Linked DNA regions of Homo sapiens: region 1 is linked to region 2. Evidence: promoter capture Hi-C in 16 types of primary human blood cells and fetal thymus (Javierre and others, 2016). All regions are on one chromosome and are shown on one strand. The core of a region is centred on a gene start or on the middle of the fragment in contact, and the rest is flanking DNA. Distances in the headings are between cores, read along the strand shown.

Region 1 (3,781 bases), core at 656-3,155, 870 kb before region 2:
CTTTGGGCCCCCAGCCCATAGAGCTCACTCTCCTCTCTGAAGTTCTGTAACTCTTGCTGCAAAGCCACTGGTCACTTACTCCCATTATACTGGGCCACTAGCCCATCTGGCACCTTTATGCATATTAGAAAAAGGTGTGCCTTTCTCTAGGCAAAGCAGCTTTGTGCCAAGGCCCAGAGTTTGTCAGAGCATGAGCTGGACTTTAGCCCCCACTTGCCCACTCAGCTGAGCTCCCTTATTTAGTACCCGTCCTGTACAAGTATTCACAGCAGCTCTGATTACCGGAGCCTGCCTTGTAGGCTGGATGGATGTGTGTGACCACCATCCAGCCCACTCTAATATGTATCCCAGGTGTAAATGCTCCAGGGAGTCTCCTCCCTGTCAGACAATATGCCCTGTGGTAAGGGACCATGTGTAATAACCCTGCTAAGTGTTTTCAGTGGCTACCTAGCACAGTTAGCCAAACACATCCTCACAATAGCTACAATTTATTGAATGCTTACTAATTCTTACAACACTACATGAGACAAATATTGTGATCATTGTTCAGATGAGAAAACTGAGGCTCAGACAGATTAATGTGCCCAAGACATCACAATTAGTAACTGCAAAGCTAAGTAAATTCACACTCAGGTGTGCCTAATCCAAAAACCTGTTTTTCCTATAATCTAGAGTCTAGACAATCTATAAATGTGTGGGATGAAAGAAAAGGAAGAATTATTCATGATGGTAGAGGGATTCAGAGAAGACTTGGGGGCCCAGAAAAAGAACTCGGGGAAACACTGGGGAGCCCAGGTGAGGGATGAGATGGGGATCTCACCGAAGAAGCAGTAGACGACTCCAAACAAACAGCACATGATGCAGACGAGGGCCGGCAGTGCCTGGTACCTGCGCTCCAGGGGCTGTTCACAAGGTGCACCCCAGAAGGCATCATCTGGCTCAGGGGGCAGCAGCTGGAACCGCAGTGTTGCCACAGTCCCCGGCATAGTGCTGGGAATAGAAGGGAGTCACCCTCCCAAGTTAACCTGACAGAGGGAAAGTTGGGGTCACGGAGGAGTCCTGGGTCCCCACCAGGATGGGGGTGGGAGAGGGATTGGGAGAACTCAGCAAGGACAGTGGACAAAGGAATAGTATCCACATTTGTGCAGCTCCGGAAGCATCTCTGGAGTGGGGAGCAAAGACAAAGGGAAACAAAAGTGCCTGGCTAGTGGAGGCTGGGATGAAGTTAAAAGAGGGACGGGAGTCGGGGGGATGAAGGGAGCGTGCTGCCAGTGAGAAGGAGGCAGCCAAGAGATTCATCTGTGGGCGGCTCAATATGGGATTGTCCAAGATTTACCTGGGCTGGAGGCGACCTGAGCTTCTGAGTGAAAGAGGCTGTGCAGAGGCCCGAGGGGCCGGGGTTGCGGGGCGCCAGAGGCTCCAACTGACTGGGGTCCAGGGAAAGTCCGTCGTGCGAGGAAGGGGGCTGCTGGGCCGGAGAGAATGGTGTCGGCGCGGTGGCGGCGCCGCTCCACGTCCAACACCGGCTGGCACTCCAGTCCCGCGGCGTCCGGGAACTCGGGCTGGGCCTGAGGAAGGGGAAGGCGCAGGAGCCGGGGCTCGGGCCGCCCCAGAACCGCGGCCCCATGCCCTGAGCCCGCCCGCGGCCTTTGGTGCTGATGGACAGCTCCGGCCTCTGCTCCTGACGTCACTCAGGGCGCACCATCCAGGCAGGGGCGGGCTGCTTCTGACGTCACATGGGACGCACCAACCACGCCGCGGGAGGCAGGGGACTCCGCCCCCGGCGTCTCCCTCTCCCGCACTGAGGAGGGGGCACTTCCGGGGGTCCTTCCCCTTTAACCTCCCCCTTCTCCTCCCTCTCCGGTAGCGAGAGCCCGAGACCCCACCCCGGGGGCGGGGCCCTTGCAGTGACACGTCGGACAGCTGCGGCCGCGGCTGAGGCTCCAGTGCCGAGCGCAAGAACCCTGCGCAGCCCAGAGCAGCTGCTGGAGGGGAATCGAGGCGCGGCTCCGGGGATTCGGCTCGGGCCGCTGGCTCTGCTCTGCGGGGAGGGAGCGGGCCCGCCCGCGGGGCCCGAGCCCTCCGGATCCGCCCCCTCCCCGGTCCCGCCCCCTCGGAGACTCCTCTGGCTGCTCTGGGGGTTCGCCGGGGCCGGGGACCCGCGGTCCGGGCGCCATGCGGGCATCGCTGCTGCTGTCGGTGCTGCGGCCCGCAGGGCCCGTGGCCGTGGGCATCTCCCTGGGCTTCACCCTGAGCCTGCTCAGCGTCACCTGGGTGGAGGAGCCGTGCGGCCCAGGCCCGCCCCAACCTGGAGACTCTGAGCTGCCGCCGCGCGGCAACACCAACGCGGCGCGCCGGCCCAACTCGGTGCAGCCCGGAGCGGAGCGCGAGAAGCCCGGGGCCGGCGAAGGCGCCGGGGAGAATTGGGAGCCGCGCGTCTTGCCCTACCACCCTGCACAGCCCGGCCAGGCCGCCAAAAAGGCCGTCAGGTAGTGATCGGCTGCGCCCGCTCTACCCCCTGGGCAGCGGCCGGGAAGCGCGCGGGGAGGTCGCCCGGGCCCGGGTCAGGCTCCGGAAGGAAGGGGCTGGCGAGCCAGGAAGTCTTTGGGCCCCGATAACTTCCGATGGCCCTGCCTTCCCGAGAGCCGTGGGGCCAGTCCGAGACTTTCTCTGGGCCCTATCCCGGCCTGGGCTGAACTTACTGGACTGTGTCCTAAACCGGCTCGACCCGATGGCGCCCCAGAGATCCTACTAGCTCCCTGGCTGGGCTGCTGGTGTTAGAGAAATGACTTATATATAGGGTGAGTGTATAGAGACAGGGGAAGAGAAAGGAGAGAACTAGGATTTACCTGGATCTCTTGTTCCTGAGTGGGTTACAAGGGCCACCTCAGGGTGAGATGGGGGAGGGAGGAATGTACCTATCTCATTAATGTCTCTGCTGATGAGTTGAAATAACTTCTAAGTAACATTGGGTTCAAATGCTGGTTCTGCAATTTACCTTCTGCCTTACCAAAAGGTAAGTTCCTAGAGCCCCTGAGTGCAGTTTGCCCCTCCCCGCAAAAACACTCAGTACACCCCTATGCCAAACGTTCCTTTATGTCATTTATGTGAGGCATTTGTGGCATAATGGCATATTTATATAGAAATGAGTAGATACATGGTGTGTCCAGCGTTTGGCTGGGTGCTTTAAACAGATATAATCAGTCCCATTTTACAGATGGCTCAGGTTAAATAACATGCTCAAGGACATAACTACTAAGTAGCGAACCCCGGAGTCAGACCCACAATATCTCTCTCCTATCTGGGTGGGTATTGCCATCTCCCAAATGCAAAGCACTACCTGTTTAAGACCATTTCGTTTAAATCCTCATGACCCCTGGGAGAGAGGGTTTATTTTTAACCTATTCATAGGTGAGAGAACAGATACAGAGAAGACGTGACCTGCCAGGGTCTGTGCTGACCACCTCCCCCCCACCCCCCGCCCCGTTGTCCTTTTGATAAGCTTGTGCCATCTCCTCCCCTAGGACCCGCTACATCAGCACGGAGCTGGGCATCAGGCAGAGGCTGCTGGTGGCGGTGCTGACCTCTCAGACCACGCTGCCCACGCTGGGCGTGGCCGTGAACCGCACGCTGGGGCACCGGCTGGAGCGTGTGGTGTTCCTGACGGGCGCACGGGGCCGCCGGGCCCCACCTGGCATGGCAGTGGTGACGCTAGGCGAGGAGCGACCCATTGGACACCTGCACCTGGCGCTGCGCCACCTGCTGGAGCAGCACGGCGACG
Region 2 (4,228 bases), core at 1,337-3,836:
TTCAAAAATATGATTACTTACAAATAGTGGTGAGTGCTCAGAAGGAAAGAGAATGCTGCAATAATGAATCCCAGGGGGGGCCTACTTGCTTGGGTACAGACAAACGCCTAGAATAAATGTGGCTGGAGGATATGTGCAACAAAATCCCACTGCTAACCACTACGTCCTGGTGCCAAATCCTGACTCCCCACAACCTTTATTCTTACTGCCCTCTTTCTGGTACCATTACACTGGCCCTTCTTCCCTAAAGGTATCTAATAACAATAATGTTAATAATAGCTAACTATTCAAACACATTACATGACTTAACACTCTTCATCATAGACTTATCAGGCAAACATGATTATTATCTCCATTTTACAAATTAGGAAACTAAGCACAAAGAAATTAAAGTAACTTGTCCAATGAGACCCAGCTAGGAAGGAGCAGAGCCAAGCTTCCTGCTCAGATATTTTGACTCCAACGTTTACATAATTTACTCCCACACTACACTGCCTCTATATACCTAGACTCTTATATTCTTCTCAGAAGTCTTTGAAATGGAGACTCTCAGTGTCCTTAGCTTGCTCTACCAGTTCTCTAACCTGGAGAGAGGTCGGAGGTGGGGAGAAGTTGAAGGCAGAAAGCATACCTGGTCTTCAGGAAGTTTTCCGTCATCTTCTAGGATCTGAAAGAGCTCTCCCTCAGCATAGTCTGTCACCACCACCACCTACAGAGAGAAGGCAGTGGCACTGATGGCTCCAGATTCATGCATTCTGAGGTTGGGAAATTCCTGGAACCCTTGTGCTTGGGGAGACAGGGCCCAAAACTGTCAAAGCACACCTCTTTATCAGTTTCAAAGCTGTCAAGCATATGCACAATGTTGGGATGCCGCAGACCCCGCATTATTTCAATCTCTCGTTGCAAATTCCTCAGCTCCTTCTCTGAGCGCCCCAATTTTGGGATGAACTTCAGGGCCACGACCTGTCAGTGGTAAGGTGAAAAGTTAACGCCTAATCACACTACTGAAAAGATCTAGAATTTCAGCCTTAATCTCAGAGCTCCAGAAGTCAGATTTTAGAGTGTTTGAGTAACTCTTATTATTTCTGTTAGTCTCCCGCTTCCATTTTCTCCATGGTACCCTGGCCTTATCCAGGCTTTCCCCATTCCTCATCCCAGGAGGAAACAGCATCTGCAAAACATTTCCCCTTCTGGAAGAAGTGTTCTGATTTGACCAGCACTCAAGATGAGATTTAGGAGAAAGGAAAGGAAAAAAAAAATGAAGAGGAAATAATAGAGTTCAAGTGGTTTACCTCTTATTACATGGTGTGCTAGAGACTAATAATATTTGTTGTTTACTAACAGCCAGGCACTGTACTAAGTGATTTAATGTGAAAACATATTTAATCCTCAAACTCCATCAATCAGTTGCTGTTCTTATCCCCATTCTAGAGATAAGGAAATTGAGACATAGGGAAGTTAAGTAATTTGTCCATAATTCTAGGGCTAGAAAGCGGTGGAGATGGAATTTGCACCCAAATAATCCAACTTCAAAGCTTATACTCCATAAGAAGTATGAGGGAGTCAGTACCTTAGGAATACAAACTGGTATAAATACATTCCTTCTAGATCCATTTTCCACTGGAGTTGGGGGTACCAAATCCCACCCAAAAGGTATCCCTCTTTGTGCAACACCTGAGCACTGTATTTTCTTCGACCCTTGTACACCCTCCCAAAAGAGCCTTCTCCAATCATCTCCAACACGTGGTACTTTTCCATGACAGAGGTTTCAGGATCTCTTAGAAGGAAGAAAGTAGAGACGGTGAAGAGCTATAGATCCAGGGACAGTTCCACAACATCTGGGACGCCTAGTTGGGGCACGGGAAAGGAAAAATGTTAGCCACCTTGCCTTTTCCTCTTTTTCACAATAAAGCCTCAAAAAACATGGGAGGGTGGAATGCATGCAAAGATGATGCGCTCTTGGAACAAACAGAGCTTCTCTTTGTAGTTCCTCCCCACTTTCATCCTCCTGTCCCCAACCCGGCCCCATGCCCAACTAACACCTGGTTCCCCTTCTCCCTCACCCAGCCTGGCTCACTCGACCCTACTCTTTCAACCTAGCCTCGCCCAACCAACCCTGCTCCTTTGAGTCTCCCCCAAGTTCCTGCCACTCCCAGACTCCTCAGCACCCGCTCTCAGACCCCCTGGCCCGTGCGCTTCGCAGGCCAGAGCCCCTCTCTCACCCCCAGCCTAGGAGCTCCAAGCTCCTCAGGCCAAGGGACGGATTCCCTGGCGTTTAGCCCCATCTCTTCTGGCTGCCTGCATACGTTGCCTGACTTATAATTCTTCTCCACCCGCCTCTCCCTCCGGTCTCTTTCGGCTCCCTTTCTTACAATTTTACTCGCTAGAACTGGTGAGAAGTTCAGAGGACAAAGGCGCTCAGAGGTGTGGAATGGACGGCGGACCACACATGGGCACTTCCTGGGACACATCCGAACTGCCTCAGGGCCATCAGGCCCGGCTAAGGACCCGGAGTCTGCGGTTGCCTAGAAACGACGCTAGCTGCCCACCCCTCTTAGTTTTCCGCCTCCGACTTCCCTAAGGGCATTTCCGGTTCCGGCTGCGGGCCGGTGAAGATATGGCGGCGTCTGCGTCTGCAGCTGCAGGGGAGGAGGACTGGTAACTTTGGGGGCATGGGCTTTGGCTGACAGCCTGGATCTAGTCCAGAGGCCTAGCAGCTGTCGCAGACGGTCCGTACGGCGGGCGTGTGGGGTGGAGCGAGGGATGAGGGATGGCAGAGATGCTGACATCTCTGGGAAAGCTGGACTGGGGAACGGGAGGGTGGAGGGGCGCTGATCTGAGTGAGAGGAGAACGGGTCGGCGCCCGCCAGGCCAGTTCAGGCCTCGCCGCATCCGGTTCGATCCCTTTTCCTCCAGCTTCACGCCATCCCTTTCTCTCCTCCTCAAATGAATTTTCTCAGGGGCTTTGGGGGATGCCTGCCCATCAGACCTCCCCATCTCCCTTTCTCCTCTCAGAACCAGTGCCCTCCAGTTCCGGCCCCCTTTCCCCTTGGATCAGCCTTTTTCCGCCGACGCTTTCCTCAGCCTTCTCTCTCTCACACAGCACTAGTGAGGACTATTGTATGAATAAAGCTTTACACTTCATATAAAGTCCCTCTAGTCCTTCTCTCAAGCATTCTTAACCAAAGACTAGAACATGGAAGGACTCTGGGATTTGGAAGTAGGATCAATGTGGGTTAACTCCACATTTTATTAGCTGTGTGATGCTGAACAGGCCATCTAGCTTCTGTGAGTCAGTGTCCTCAGCTGTAAAAAAAAAAAGTGGGTGTGGCATTTACCTCAGAATAGTTGAGAGGATCACGACGGATTTGTAATATACTTAAGTCTGTTTTTTGTTTTGTTTTGTTTTGTTTTTTGAGACAGAGTCTCACTCTCGCCCACGCTGGAGTGCGGTGGTGCGATTACGGCTCACTGCAGCCTCGACCTCCCCAGGCTCAGGTGATCCTTCTGCCTCAGCCTTCCGAGTAGCTGAGACTACAGGTGTGTGCCACCATGCCTGGCTAATTTTTGTATTTTTTGTAGAGACGGAGTTTTGCCATGTTGGCCAGACTGGTCTTGAACCCCTGGGTTCAAGTGATCCTCCCACCTCAGCCTCCCAAGGTGCTGGAATTACAGGCGTGAGCCACCACACCCGGCCTCCTTTTCATTAATAACTGAGGTGCAGGCACCTGGGAAGACTAGATGAGTCCCAAAGAAGTAAAGTGATTTGCCAAAAGATAGAAAATTATGAATAGAAATCCATATCTGTCTGACTCCACACCTTAGATTCTTTGTACTAGGACATTCTTCAGTCCCCACTCCCCCAATTTTTTTTTTTTTTTTTTTTTTTTTTGAGACGGAGTCTTGCTCTGTCGCCCAGGCTGGAGTGCAGTGGCGCAATCTCGGTTCACTGCAAGCTCCGCCTCCCGGGTTCATGCCATTCTCCTGCCTCAGCCTCCCGAGTAGCTGGGACTACAGGCGCCCGCCACCACACCCAGCTAATTTTTTGTGATTTTTAGTAGAGACGGGGTTTCACCCTGTTAGCCAGGATGGTCTCTATCTCCTGACTTCATGATCCACCCGCCTCAGCCTCCCAAAGTGCTGGGATTACAGGCCTGAGCCACCGCGCCCGGCCCCCCTCCCCCATTTTGTTGTCACCACCTTACCACCATCCCATCCAGGACCCATA

The links. The method cuts DNA at HindIII sites, captures the fragments that hold promoters and counts their contacts. A CHiCAGO score of 5 or more calls a contact.
Region 1: a contact is called between the fragment with the promoter of CHPF here and the fragment with the promoter of RNF25 in region 2, in 2 of 17 cell types (total CD8 T cells and naive CD8 T cells). The highest score is 6.4, in total CD8 T cells.

What each region holds. Positions count from the first base shown.
Region 1 is chr2:219,541,933-219,545,713 of GRCh38, reverse strand. CHPF (chondroitin polymerizing factor) reads left to right here and starts at 1,905. Exons shown (of 4, transcript NM_024536.6): 1 at 1,905-2,489; 2 at 3,525-3,781. The coding sequence starts at 2,176. It overlaps TMEM198 (transmembrane protein 198), which reads right to left and starts at 1,686. Exons shown (of 5, transcript NM_001005209.3): 1 at 1,337-1,686; 2 at 821-1,025. The coding sequence starts at 986. RefSeq lists silencers at 1,484-1,623, 1,664-2,373, 2,384-2,473. The HindIII fragment of the contact is 11,388 bases long and covers 1-3,504 here.
Region 2 is chr2:218,670,360-218,674,587 of GRCh38, reverse strand. It overlaps RNF25 (ring finger protein 25), which reads left to right and starts at 2,586. Exons shown (of 10, transcript NM_022453.3): 1 at 2,586-2,658. The coding sequence starts at 2,618. STK36 (serine/threonine kinase 36) reads right to left here and starts at 2,502. Exons shown (of 27, transcript NM_015690.5): 1 at 2,373-2,502; 2 at 1,675-1,847; 3 at 823-963; 4 at 632-709. The coding sequence starts at 1,758. RefSeq lists an enhancer at 2,582-2,681. The HindIII fragment of the contact is 1,597 bases long and covers 1,538-3,134 here.